2 separate regions of the Homo sapiens genome follow, and region 1 is linked to region 2. The links are contacts of gene promoters, found by promoter capture Hi-C in blood cells and fetal thymus (Javierre and others, 2016). All regions are on one chromosome and are shown on one strand. Each heading gives the region's core, a stretch centred on a gene start or on the middle of the fragment in contact. The rest is flanking DNA. Distances are from core to core; before and after follow the strand shown. Region 1 holds the start of ACTL9 (actin like 9). Region 2 holds the start of MYO1F (myosin IF).

Region 1 (6,032 bases), core at 2,442-4,941, 120 kb after region 2:
CATGCACCTGCAGTCCCAGCTATTCGGGAGGCTGAGGTGGGAGGATCACCTGAGCTGGGGGAGGCTGAGGCTGCAGCGAGTCATGATCATGCGGCTGCACTCCAGATGGGGTGACAGAGCGAGACCCTGTCTCAAAAACAAACAAACAAACAAACAAACAAACAAACAAACAAACACAGCAACTGAGCACAAAACTCCTGAAAAGTTAGCAATGCACAGAAAGACACAGCAGGAGCCTACAGATCCTGTGAGTGATGCTCCTTAAATAGTGACTGGCTGAAAGAATGAATGAATGAGTGAATGAATGATTTCTTGGGCTGAGCAAAAAGAGGACTTGACACAGACATGGATAACCTCCAGCAGCTCCTGTCTACTGTGTTGATAAACTGGGGGTTGTGTCCAGACTGCTGGCTGGAGGTCCGGATGTCCTTCAGGCTGGGCTAGGGGGCATGAAGACAGAGGGTCCTACCTCCAGAGGGGACCCAGGACGCTCGCCATCCTGAGAGGCTGGATTCCCCCTCCCGACCCTGGCAGGGACAGGGTGGGGTGGGAGAGGCCTCCTCGAGCATCCTCAGTGCACAACCCAGAGAAAGCTCATGGGACTGAGAGGAACAGGCTGAGAGATGGACTTTTAATGGAATGGAGGGAGATGGGGATGCATAGCCTGGGACACATGGGCCCTGGGTGCCTGTGCTGGGGCGAGTGAGAGAGCCAGTGTCCAGGTGAAGCTCCTTGCCTGGGGCATCTGCCCCATGACTGCAGTGGACTGGGAAGCCCTTAAGAGTATCACTACCCACTGATGTCCAAGTCTTGCTTGATAGTATGGTGTCCAGGGAATGGTCTTGGGGAGTGGGTTCCGGAGAGCCTGTGAGAGTTCCAGGGCGGGGTGCACATCATGGGGTGCCTGGGAGGGTATCTTTGGGAGAGTCTGTGGAGGAGGGAGTTGGGAGGTGTTGGAACACAGAGGAGGGCCTAGGGTCTAGTGGGGTCGTTATAGGATGCTCATGGGGACCTGAGCATGACATTTGGGAGGCTGGCTCTTTCCTGGGAGGAGCTGGGGGCTGAGGAAGAGGGTCAGGAAGTGTCCTGTGAGAGAGAACATTTGGGAGTATTTCGGGCGGAGACACAGTGCAAGAAAGTGGTCTTAGAGCAACAGGGGTCCACCCTGGGGTTTCGGGGGTGGATCTCAGAATGATGTGTTTTGGGAAGATGGATGGGGGATGGGTGATGGGACCACCTGGTCAGTGGAGGTGGGGCCAGGGGAGGTCTGGGGGAAAAATCCTGAGGGGAGGGGAGAGTTCTGCAGGGATGATGGATGCCAGGGGCATCCCATGGTGGGACCATTGTAGGAGAAACCCTTGAAAGTCAGAATTCAGGTCTCTGTGATGGATCTGGGGGGTCAGCACTTGTGGGGGGCATCCTAGGGGAAACCAATGAAGAGGTGGATTTGGGGTGCTGAGAACCAGGGGTATCTTGACAAGTGGAATCTTGACAAGTGGAATTTAAGAGTGTGTTTGGGGGGATTAGAAATAAGGGGAAGATTATGGGGGTGCACCCAGGGGTTGGAGCACTCACGGGAAGATTCTGGGAGGAGGTTGGAGCATTCCGGGGTAGAGACTGGGTTGGGGGGTCCCTGAGGAGCATACTAAGGGGGGTGGCAGTTTGGAGGGTTTGGAGCCCAGGGGTATTTTGGGATGCTATATCAAAAGCAATAGATAATGGGGTGAGATTAGGGAGTCAGTATTTGAGGATGTCTTGGGCACATAGTGGGTAATTAATGAATGTATGTGGGATCAATGCATGAATCACTTAAACTAGAAATGGAAGGAATTGGGTATGTGGCTTGGGTATGTGGCAGACCCTAGGGGTGTGTGTGGGCATGGGGTGGGTGGTCAGAGGCTTTCATGTTCTTCATGTTTGGGGTTGGGGGCAGGTGCCAGGTGGAGGCTTATCTATGACTCATAGGAGGAGGTGATATTTCTAACAATAGCCTTGAGGTAGTGAACTCCCCATCTCTGGGAGTGTGTAAATGGGAAGGGCACTTGTCAGAGGTGGTCTGGGGAGGGGGTGTCCCAACCCAAGGGTGCCTGGGGAGGGGCACAGATCACAGGAGGATGGGTTGACAGGATTAGAACTTAGTGGTCTGTTGGGAGTTATTCATGGGGAAGGTGGGTTTAGGGGGTCAGGATTGGGGTGTCTCAGGGCATGCATCACAGGAGGTGAGTTAGGTCAGCCTGTGGGGCGAGGTGCCCAGGAGTGGATGGGGCAGGCCCTGGAGGAAGGACAGGACAGAGCCGGCTGTAGCAGAGGCTTTACTGCCCCCACGCCCTCCCCAGCTCTGCCCTGGTCAGTAGCATTTGCGGTACACGATATAGGGACCCTGTTCCTCGTACTGCTCCCGCAGGACCCAGCAGGACTGGAAGGCGCGCAGGGAGGCCAGGATGGAGCCCCCGATCCATACGGAGAAATTCCTGGTGGGCTGGGCAGCCACCACCACGTGGGTCTCGGCTGGCAGAGCGCGCAGCAGCTCTGCCCGGAAGCGACCCTCGAAGCCGGTGAAGAGCGAGGACCCACCGCAGAGAAGCACGTTTTGGGCCAAGTCCGCGCGCATCTCCAGTGACAACTTGCGGAGACTCTGCTTGGCCATGGTGGAGAGGCCGACGGGTGACAGCCCCGGGACCTCTGGGGGGTTGAACAGCAGCTCCGGACACTGGAACAGCTCCTTGCCCAGGGTGACCGTGCGCCCATCGGGCAGCTTCAGAGTCCGCTTGTACTCCTGCTCCGGCCGGGCCTGCTCCTTCTGGAAGTCGGAGGCCACGTAGCAATAGTGGTGCTTAATGTTCTCCACTAGGTCCAGGTCCTGCTGTCCCAGGGGCAGGCCGGCCTGGAGCAGCATCTCCGCCAGGAAGGCGGTCAGGTTGTTGCCCGCCAGGTCCAGACGCTCCGTGGCGTGGAGCAGGTTGTAGCCCTGGAAGACGGGCACTGTGTAGGTGACCCCGTGTCCCGTGTCCACCACCAGCCCGCTGACACGACCGTGGGCGTAGACAGACAGCACCGACTGCGATGCCACGTACATGGCTGGGGAGCGCAGCGACTCGAAGGCCACCTCCACTAGCTTCTCGCGGTTGGTGGCCGGGCTGAAGGGTGGGTCGGAGAACAGCAGCGGGTGGTCGTGGGTGGCCACTCGGAGGTCGTGCTCCAGCAGGTGGCGCCAGATGAGCTCGGCGGCATCCCAGTCCACGACGATGCCGCTGCGCAGGGGTTGCACCAGCGTCAGCTCTGGGAGCACGCGGGCTGCCTCGCCGATGAACGTCTGCAGCCCGGACTGCCCCGAGGTGGCGGGTTTCTTGGGCTGGCAGCCCAGGATGGTGGCCACGGTGTAGGTGGGGCTGGCCTGCCCAGCAAAACCTACCTTACAGGTGCCTGTGCCCATGTCAATAACCACCGCGCCGGTCTTTGGTGGCAGCCTGTCGGCCACCATGCCGGGGGAGTCCCGCTGCAGGGGCTTGTTCACCACGTTGGGACTGGGGTTTGGGCCGGGCCTGGGGGCCTCCAGGGAGGACTGGGATTCCGAGGACTTGGGGCGACTTGCATCCATGGTTGCGGGACGCCAGGTGAGGGGGCTTTTCCTCTGGGGTTGGGGTTGCGGGGAGAAGAGGTTGAGGCCCGGCCAGTGGGGAGGGCAGGCAGACAGGGGGAGGGGTGGGCCCGCAATCTATGACGTCACGGTGCCCCTTCAGTCTTCTTAAGACATCACAATGCAGCCAAGAGGATGGGTCCCTGCCCAGCCCTGCCTGCCCAAAGGCTGTCATCTCTTCTCTGAAGAGCCAAATTTGGAGGAGGAGATGAGCATCTCAGAGCAGGGCCCTCTTAACACATTTCTGTCGGATGCGCTAGAAGCTAATACGATGGCACCTGGTTTTTGAGAAAAGACAAGCTTTTTGTTGCATGTCAACCCACTGGGAGCTAGGAATCCAGCACAAGTCTGTTTCTCAGCTGGCTTTAAGGCAGTAATTTTATTAGAAAAGTTCTGGGGCCGGGGGCTGTGGCTCACACCTGTAATCCCAGCACTTTGGGAGACCGAGGTGGGAGATCACCTGAGGTCAGGAGTTCGAGACCAGCCTGGCCAACATGGTGAAACCCGTCTCTACCAAAAAATACAAAAATTAGCCTGGCATGGTGGCGCATGCCTGTGGTCCCAGCTACTGGGGAGGCTGAGGCAGGAGAATCACTTGAACCCAGGAGGTGGAGGTTGAAGTGAACCAAGATCATGCCACCGCACTCCAGGCTGGGGGATGGAGTGAGACTCTGTCTCAAAAGAAAAAGAAAATAAAAGAAAAAAAATTAGCCAGGCATGGTGGCACATGCCTGTAGTCCCAGCTACTAGGGAGGCTGAGGCAGGAGAATCTCTTGAACCCGGGAGGTGGAGGTTGCAGCGAGCCAAGATCATGCTACTGCACTCCAGCCTGTATGACAGAGCGAGACTCATCTCAAAACAAACAAACAAACAAACAAAGAAACAAACAAAAAACCCTCATAAGTGGAAGGCATTTCAGCAAGTTGTTTCTTTTTTGATCTGCCATTCTGCAAGCTCAAACATTTCTTTGGGGCATGGTTTCACTAAAAACATGCAAAATTGGTTTCTCTAACTCTTTGGGCCACGCTTTCAGGAAGACCCAGGAATCCTCCTCTGGGTACCTCGCCATGAAGCTATTTACAGCCTAGTGGCAGAGAGCTTGCCACAGGCCTCCCTAGAATATTAGAATATTCCTCCTCAGAATATTAATTAGAAGGTGGGGCGGGCTAGCATGGCTTCCTGGTTTCCAAATGGAGACAGAGGCCAGCCTTGGTTGGGGATGGAGAGAGGCAGGGAGAGACAGGAACACCCCTGTCCTAGATTCTTTGCTTCCTCTGCTATATTCACTGCCTGAATCATTCTCCCTGTCCCATTCCTGCCAAGAAGGAATTTGCCTCTTCAAATCTCAGTCTGATGCCACCTCCTCCTGGAAGCCAACCCTGATTTCTACTCTGTACTCCAACTAGATGAGGGATGGGGGAAGTCTGCCTTCTCTCCAGGGGTTGTTACCTGCTTCCTCCTGGCAGGAGAGGGGCTCAGTGAGATACAAGAAGGGGTTTCAGTATAGATAAAAGGGGAGAGGGTGCATTTGGGAGGAAGGAATTATCTCAACAATAAATAGCAGGCTTCAAAATGCATTAGGAGAGTTGCTTCAAGACCATGGCTGTTTTTGGTGATATCAGATATCACCTGTTAGTTAAAGCAAATAAAAACGTTTTTCTTAGTGTATGTTCATGCATGTGGTGGTAGAAATCACCAGGAATAGTGCTAGTGAATGTCTTATGGGATATCTAAATGAAAGAGGTTTAATTTTCTAGTTGTGTCTAGATTTATTACTCTGCCAGAGTGTGGTTTATTGAGCATTTTAATTAATTATTGATTTACTGGTATGTGTGGTCTAATCCATGCTTTTGGAAATATTTACTCAGCAATTTATTGAGGGTCTGTTTTTTGGACTGTTCACAACAACCAGAAATACACTAAGTGATAACACTTTATTGTTTTCAATTTTTTTTTGAGACTGGGTCTTGCTATATTGTCCAGGCTGGAGTGTAGTGGTGCAATCACTGCTCACTGCAGCCTCCTTAACCTCGTGGTCTCAAGCAATCCTCCCACTTCAGCCTCCAAAGTAGCTGGGACTATAGGCATGTGCTACTATCTCCGGATAAGTTTTTAATTTTTTGTAGAAATGGGGTCTTGCTATGTTGCCCAGGCTGATCTTGAGCTCCTGGGCTCAAGTGATCCTCCTGTCTTAACCTCCCAAAGTGCTGGGATGACAGGGATTAGCCACCATGCCTGGCCTTTCTTCATTTTCTGATTTTAAAACATGGCAACTTCTTATGGCAACTTTATGACTTAGGAATGGGTACTATGTCTATTTTTTTGATGGAAAAGAAGCTCAGAGAGGTCAAGTGATTGTTCAAAGTCACAACTGGTATGAGACAGAGGCAGGAGT
Region 2 (6,425 bases), core at 1,027-3,526:
TCCCGGGTTCAAGCGATTCTCCTGCCTCAGCCTCCCGAGTAGCTAGGATGACAGGCATGTGCCACCACACCCAGCTCATTTTTGTATTTTTAGGAGAGACGGGGTCTCACCACGTTGGCCAGGATCGTTTCTATCTCTTGACTTCGTGATCTGCCCGCCTCGGCCTCCCAAAGTGCTAGGATTACAGGTGTGAGCCACCGCACCCGGCCGGGCATTAGATTGTCATAAGCAGCATGCAACCTGGATCCCTCGTGTGTGCAGTTCACAACAGGGTTTGCGATCCTGTGATAATCTAATGGCGCCCCCGAGAATCTGAGAGGAGGTGGAGCTCGGGCTTGCTTGCCTGCCACTCATCTCCTGCTCTGTGACCCGATAGGGCTCATGGTTTCTAACAGACAGACCATGGCCCGATAGCAGTCCATGACCCCGGGGGTTGGGGACCCTGTTGTAAAGGACTTCAGAAATACTGTTTCATTGAATCCTTCAGCGATCTTCCTGGCATTCACCACTCCTCCAGGAAGATTTCAGCATCCCCAGACAGAGGTGGGTGTCATTTTTTTCTCTTCTATCATCCTCTGCGATACGGGTGGCCCCTCCCAGACCTTGTCTGCCAAGCCGACTGTTGACTAAGCATTTTCAGAGGGCTTCCTTGGGGAGGGGTTGCCTTTCTTTCAAGTAGCAAATCACTTCCTGTGTTCTTTTGATCAAAGCCCTGCCCATCCCAGGACCTGAGCCTCCCTGGCTTGCTTCTCATCTTGGAAGAATTCCCACCCCAACAGTCTCAGAGCTCCAGCTGATGGTTTGGGTGTGAATTCCGGGATGCCCAATTTCTCATCAGCTTTCCTTTTTTGAGACGGAGTGTGCTCTGTCACCCAGGCTGGAGTGCAGCGGCAGGATCTCAGCTCACTGCACCCTCCGCCTCCTGGGTTCAAGTTATTCTCTTGCCTCAGCCTCATATGTAGCTGGGATTACAGGCGTGTGCCACCACGCCCAGTTAATTTTTTGTATTTTTTAGTAGAGACGAGGTTTCACCACGTTGGCCAGGCTGGTCTCGAACACCTGACCTCAAGTGATCTACCTGTCTCAGCCTCCTAAAATGCTGGGATTACAGGCATGAGCCACTGTCCCTGGCCCTCACTGGCTTCCTGAAAGAAGGTGTTGTCTCTCAGACTAACACCACCTCTGCCTCTTGCCCTATGTCCCTGACTCCACCCTAGTAAGCTGTACCTGCCAAGAATCCTGCAGTGGCCGCTGTCACAGCCACATGCTCTCATCCTCACTGACTGAATGACGAGAAATGAAAGCTGAAGTGGTCTACACAGCAGAGAGCTGTGGGGTGGGGTCAGCCCTGGCCACCTCTTACTTTGCGTCTTATGGTGGTACGATACTGCTAGGAATAGCGCCATGATCACGACAGTCTCCCCGTTGCTATCATCGACAGACCTCAGACTTGACAGGCAGCAACACCTCTGGCTGCCATCCTCCTCTTGGGATAAGGGATGCCCACCAAAGGGTGGCATGGACGTATTCAGCCTCTCCTGCCTCTGCTGCAGCCATACCGCCCGTCACCGGCACAGGGAGGGCGTCAATCCACCCCATCGCTTGTTAGACATAGCTTCCCATCTCAGCCGAGGACTCTGTGGCAGAACCCACAGACCTTGAGAATGTTGCAACTGAAAGACCCCTGAAGAGCAACTTCCGCATCTAGACGGATTTCCAAATATGACATCTGTGGGAACCGGGGCCAAGAGAGGGGAAGTGACTAGCCCAAGGCTACACAGGGAGACGAGAGACTGGGCTGGACTGGGAAAGGGCTCCCTTAATTTGCAAGCAAAGGAGGCTATGTCCTTGTCCCTGCAGACTCTGTGATTCTCCCTGGGCCACCTTCTGTCTTCCAGGTCCTGCCCTATCCTTGGATCCAGGGATACCACCCTGGCATCCCCACCACCTACAGATGGGAGCTTGCTCCCTGGTAAGGGATGCTGGAGGCACCTGAGCTGCACTGAGAGACACCCCACCCCCACAGAAGTCCACCATGCCCCTCCCCTCACCCCAATTTCTGATGGTCATTTTTAGGACACCTCCACCTGGCTGGTGTCCCTCCTCTTTCTTCTTCCAGATCCCACCCTTGAAGGACTTACCATGGTGGGGGGCTGGTGTCTGGGCTCCTGGAGGCTCCTGAATGGGTCGTGATGGAGGTGCAGGTTCAGGGGGATCTTGGGGGTGGCTTGGGCATGGCCCTGCTTCTGCCCGTTCACCGGACTCCCGGCTTTAGTTCCTCTTACAACAGCCCCTTCTCACTTCCTTTGGCGGGAGGGGCCGAGGCCATGGGGGAGGGAAGCTGGGTGTGGAGGGGGGCGGGGAGCTGGCTGTTTGGGGCTCTGAGCCTGAAGGGAGGGGTCAGAACTTGATGGCAGCCACTACTGGACCTCAGAGGCCTCTTCCCCAACTCCTTGGGGACAGGGCTGCTGCAGGAACATTTGGGTCAGCTGGCTGCAGGACGAACCACCTCTTTTCAGGGCGATTCAGGAAGCATTTGGGCTTCCCGGGTCTCTTTTTAAAACCAAGGAAGGGGCCCAGGGGAGGTGGCTCACGCCTGTAATCCCAATACTTTGGGGGGCCAAGGTTGGAGGATCGCTTGAGTCCAGGAGTTTGAGACCAGCCTGGGCTATATAGCATGACCCCATCTCTACAAAAAATGAAAAGAAAAAAAATTAGCTGGGCATGGTGGCATGAGCCTGCAGTCCCAGCTACTCAGAGGGCTGAGGTGGGAGGATTGCTTGAACCTGGGAGGTGGAGGCCTCAGTGAGCCCTGATTGCGCCACTGCACTCCAGCCTGGGCGAAAGAGTGAGACCCTGTCTCTAAAAACAAACCAGAAAAAACAAAAAAACCAAAAAAACAACAACAACAGGGAAGGGTGCCTTCTTCAGCTGTGTCTGCTCTGGGCATCCCTGGGCAACCTCCTTCATTATTATTATTGTTATTATTTTGAGACGGAGTCTAGCTCTGTCACCCAGGCTAGAATGCAGTGGTGCAATCTCAGCTTACTTTAATCTCCGCCTCCTGGGTTCAAGCGATTCTCCTGCCTCAGCCTCCTGAGTAGCTGGGATTACAGGTGCCCACCGCCACACCTGGCTAATATTTGTATTTTTAGTAGAGACGGAATTTCGCCATGTTGGCCAGGCCGGCCTTGAACTCCTGACCTCAGGTGATCCTCCCAACTCGGCCTCCCAAAGTGCTGGGATTACAGGCATAAGCCACCACGCCTGGCCCAACCTCCCTCTTTAGATGACCCTCAGAAGTCACACGTGTTTGTGTGCAGAAGTGGAGGGTACTGGGAAGCAGGTGCATCTGAAAGGTCCCTGACTTTGGATGTCACATCTAGATTTAACAGCCTCCAGTTTGGCTACTTCCTGGATGACTTAGTTACTCCCTTTTCTCATTGTAAAATGGGAACGTGGGTCCCCCCAGCAGAGCCTGGCCCAGGTACGTGTCAGCCTATGAGCTGGTCTTTGGGACACCAGCCAACCACCTGAGGCTCCTCTTGACATGTGAGGAAATGGCAGTTCTAATAGGTTGTTACTTCCCCACACCACCCAGCAAGGAGGTGGCCGAGGCAGGACCCGACCCTGGGAGACCCTGGGGGACCCATGTTCAGATCTATCTTTGGTCCAGGGCGATAAACCCGCATCCCCCTTGAAGATGTTAATATGCAGCGCCCCTAGTGGCCACAGCTGGGAAGGAGCCCGTCTCTGCTGGAATCTCCTGAGCGAGTTTGCAGAATTGACGGGCTTGGGGCATGCAATTCTCAGCAATGTCTCCAGGCACTCAAGAGTGAATATGAATGGGTAAGAGGACCCCACTTTGTTGGGGGCCATCAGGGGAGGCTTCTAGGAAGAGGCAACGTTTGTGCTGACACCGGCGAGTAAGCTGGAGTTAAAAAAGGTAAAGGGGCAGGAGCGTGCACCTGGCCATGCTAAGCGCTCAAGCAAAGGCCCAGATATGGGAAAACCATAGGGCAATTGAGGAAGTTCGGGGAGGCTGGTGTGGCTGGAGCATGCGGAGTGACGGAGAGTGTGATGGCCAGGGTGGCAGGTGCTAGACCGTGTGGCTTTAAGAGCCTCTGTGAGGGCCAGGCATGGTGGCTGATGCCTGTAATCCCAGAACTTTGGGAGGCTGAGGTGGGAGGATCGCTTGAGCCCAGGAGTTCCAGACCAGCTTGGGCAACATAGCAAGACCTCGTCTCTACAAAAAATTAAAAAATCAGCTAGGTGTGCTGTTGCACCTATAATCTCAGTTACTTGGCAGGGTAGGCAGGAGAATCGTTTAAGCCCAGGAGTTCAAGGCTGCAGTGAGCTGAGATCGTGCCACTGAACTCCAGCCTGGGCTACAGAGTGAGACCCTGTCTCAAAAAACAAAAACAAAAAAGCAAAACCCTTCCACGAGAAGCTGTTGTACTTTTCTCCTAAAATCCCTGGGTTCCTGTCTGCAATGTTAAAAGTCCCCTTCTGGCTGGGCACGGTGGCCCATGCCTGTAATCCCAGCACTCTGGGAGGCCGAGGCGGGCAGATCACGAGGTCAGGAGATCGAGACCATCCTGGCTAACACGGTGAAACCCCGTCTCTACTAAAAAAGTACAAAAAATTAGCTGGGCATGTTGGCGGGCGCCTGTAGTGCCAGCTACTCGGGAGGCTGAGGCGAGAATGGCATGAACCCAGGAGGCGGAGCTTGCAGTGAGCCGAGATCGTGCCACTGCACTCCAGCCTGGGCAACAGTGCAAGACTCCGTCTCAAAAAAAAAAAAAAATAAAAAAAAAAAATAAATAAATCAGCTGGGTGTGGTCGTGCACGCCTGTAGTCCCAGCTATTCAGAAGGTGGAAGTGGGAGGATCACTTGAGTCCAGGAGATCAAGGCTGCAGTGAGCTATGATAGGCATAGCTGGGCGACAGGGACCGTCTCAGGAAAAAAAAAAAAGAAGTCCCCTTTTGGCTGTTGGGTAGACCTGGGAGAATGGGTGGTCCTTTCCAGACCTGGGTGGGGGCTACTGGATGCACTGACACACACACACCGCAATTCGTAGAAATCTACACAAGACAGAACTTTATTGATGTAGGGCTTCCTGGCAGGAGTGTGTGGGCCCCAGGGCAGGGTCTGTAGCACCATGAGGGGGTGGCCTGGATGTCGGGGTGCCCCTGGGGCGGGCAGGGCAGAGGTTGGGGTGGATCCTCCCCCTAGTCAGGTCAGGGGAGGGTGTCAGGGAGGTGGTGCTACCCCCCCCCCTCCCATAGCAGACACAGATTCCCCCCCAGCTCGGAGTGGAGGGGTAGGGCAGTGCTGGGGGGCAGGGCACCGGCAGACCACCTCCCCACCCCTACTCTTCACAGTACATATTCCGATCAAAGGAGGGGGGGAGTGTTGGGGACTCCCTAAGGGTGGGTTCAAAGGGTGCTGGGGTGAACAGCTGTCCCCTCCCCAGACCCACCCTGGAGGGGGGGTCTCACTATGTGAACTGGAAGGGGCGGATGCTGAAGAGGGGCTCTGGGGGGATAGCCAGCCCCTCTCCATCCCCCCAGCCAGGGCCCTGCAGGGGTTCCCAATAAATAACTTCCGGCTCCGTCTCACCCTTCCCTCCCAGTTCCCGCCCCCCCGGGGCCCCCTCTGGCCGGCCCGCTGCAGGGCTGGCGGCGGAGACCCCGCCAGCTGTGGCTCCGGGTGCCGCGCGCCCCCTAGTGGCCATGGCAGGTTTTGCAGCACATCTGGCGGAAGTAGGCTCGGCTGCAGAACTGAAATTTGAGCACCAGGGGGCAGTAGGCGACCTTGTTCACATCCTTGCACTCTGCGGGGACGGGAGAAGGAAGGAAAAATCAGGTCTCAGCTGCCCTCCCCGCAGGGCTGCACACACGACCTGCAGTGCTTCCTGGCCAGTGACTTTCTGTGCCTTGGTTTCTTTCTTTTTAAATTTACTTTTTTTTTTTTTTTTTTTTTTTTTTTTTACAGATGTTATCTTGCTATGTTGACCAGGCTGGTCTCCACCTCTTGAGCTCAAGTGATCCTCTCACCTCAGCCTCCTAAGTAGTTGGGACTACAGGTGTGAGCAAACCACGCCTGACTTCTGTGCCTTAGTTTCCTCAACTATCAAAGGGGGCTTATAATAGCACCGATGTCACTAGGCTGTTTTGAGGATTTAAGAGAGAGAGTGTAGGGTTGGGGGCCAACACAGACACATTAGTAATGAGAAAAGGGCCGGGTACAGTGTATCATGCCTGTAATCCCAGCACTTTGGGAGACCAAGGCAGGAGGACTGCTTGAGCCCAGGAGTTTGAGACCAGCCTGGGCAACATAGTGAGAGCACTGCATCTACAAAAACTAATTAAAAGAAAAAAATAGGCTGGGCATGGTGGCTCATGCCTGTAATCTCAGCACT

Evidence for each region. The method cuts DNA at HindIII sites, captures the fragments that hold promoters and counts their contacts. A CHiCAGO score of 5 or more calls a contact.
Region 1: a contact is called between the fragment with the promoter of ACTL9 here and the fragment with the promoter of MYO1F in region 2, in 1 of 17 cell types (monocytes). The highest score is 5.6, in monocytes.

The regions. Positions count from the first base shown.
Region 1 is chr19:8,695,104-8,701,135 of GRCh38, forward strand. It overlaps ACTL9 (actin like 9), which reads right to left and starts at 3,692. Exons shown (of 1, transcript NM_178525.5): 1 at 2,297-3,692. The coding sequence starts at 3,598. The coding sequence ends at 2,348. The HindIII fragment of the contact is 13,278 bases long and covers 1-3,935 here.
Region 2 is chr19:8,575,166-8,581,590 of GRCh38, forward strand. MYO1F (myosin IF) reads right to left here and starts at 2,277. Exons shown (of 28, transcript NM_012335.4): 1 at 2,142-2,277. The coding sequence starts at 2,144. ADAMTS10 (ADAM metallopeptidase with thrombospondin type 1 motif 10) reads right to left here. Exons shown (of 26, transcript NM_030957.4): 26 at 5,075-5,837. The coding sequence ends at 5,728. RefSeq lists enhancers at 722-781, 1,122-1,181, 1,352-1,531 and silencers at 1,652-1,701, 2,239-2,388, 3,609-3,803, 5,615-5,664. The HindIII fragment of the contact is 24,150 bases long and covers 1-6,425 here.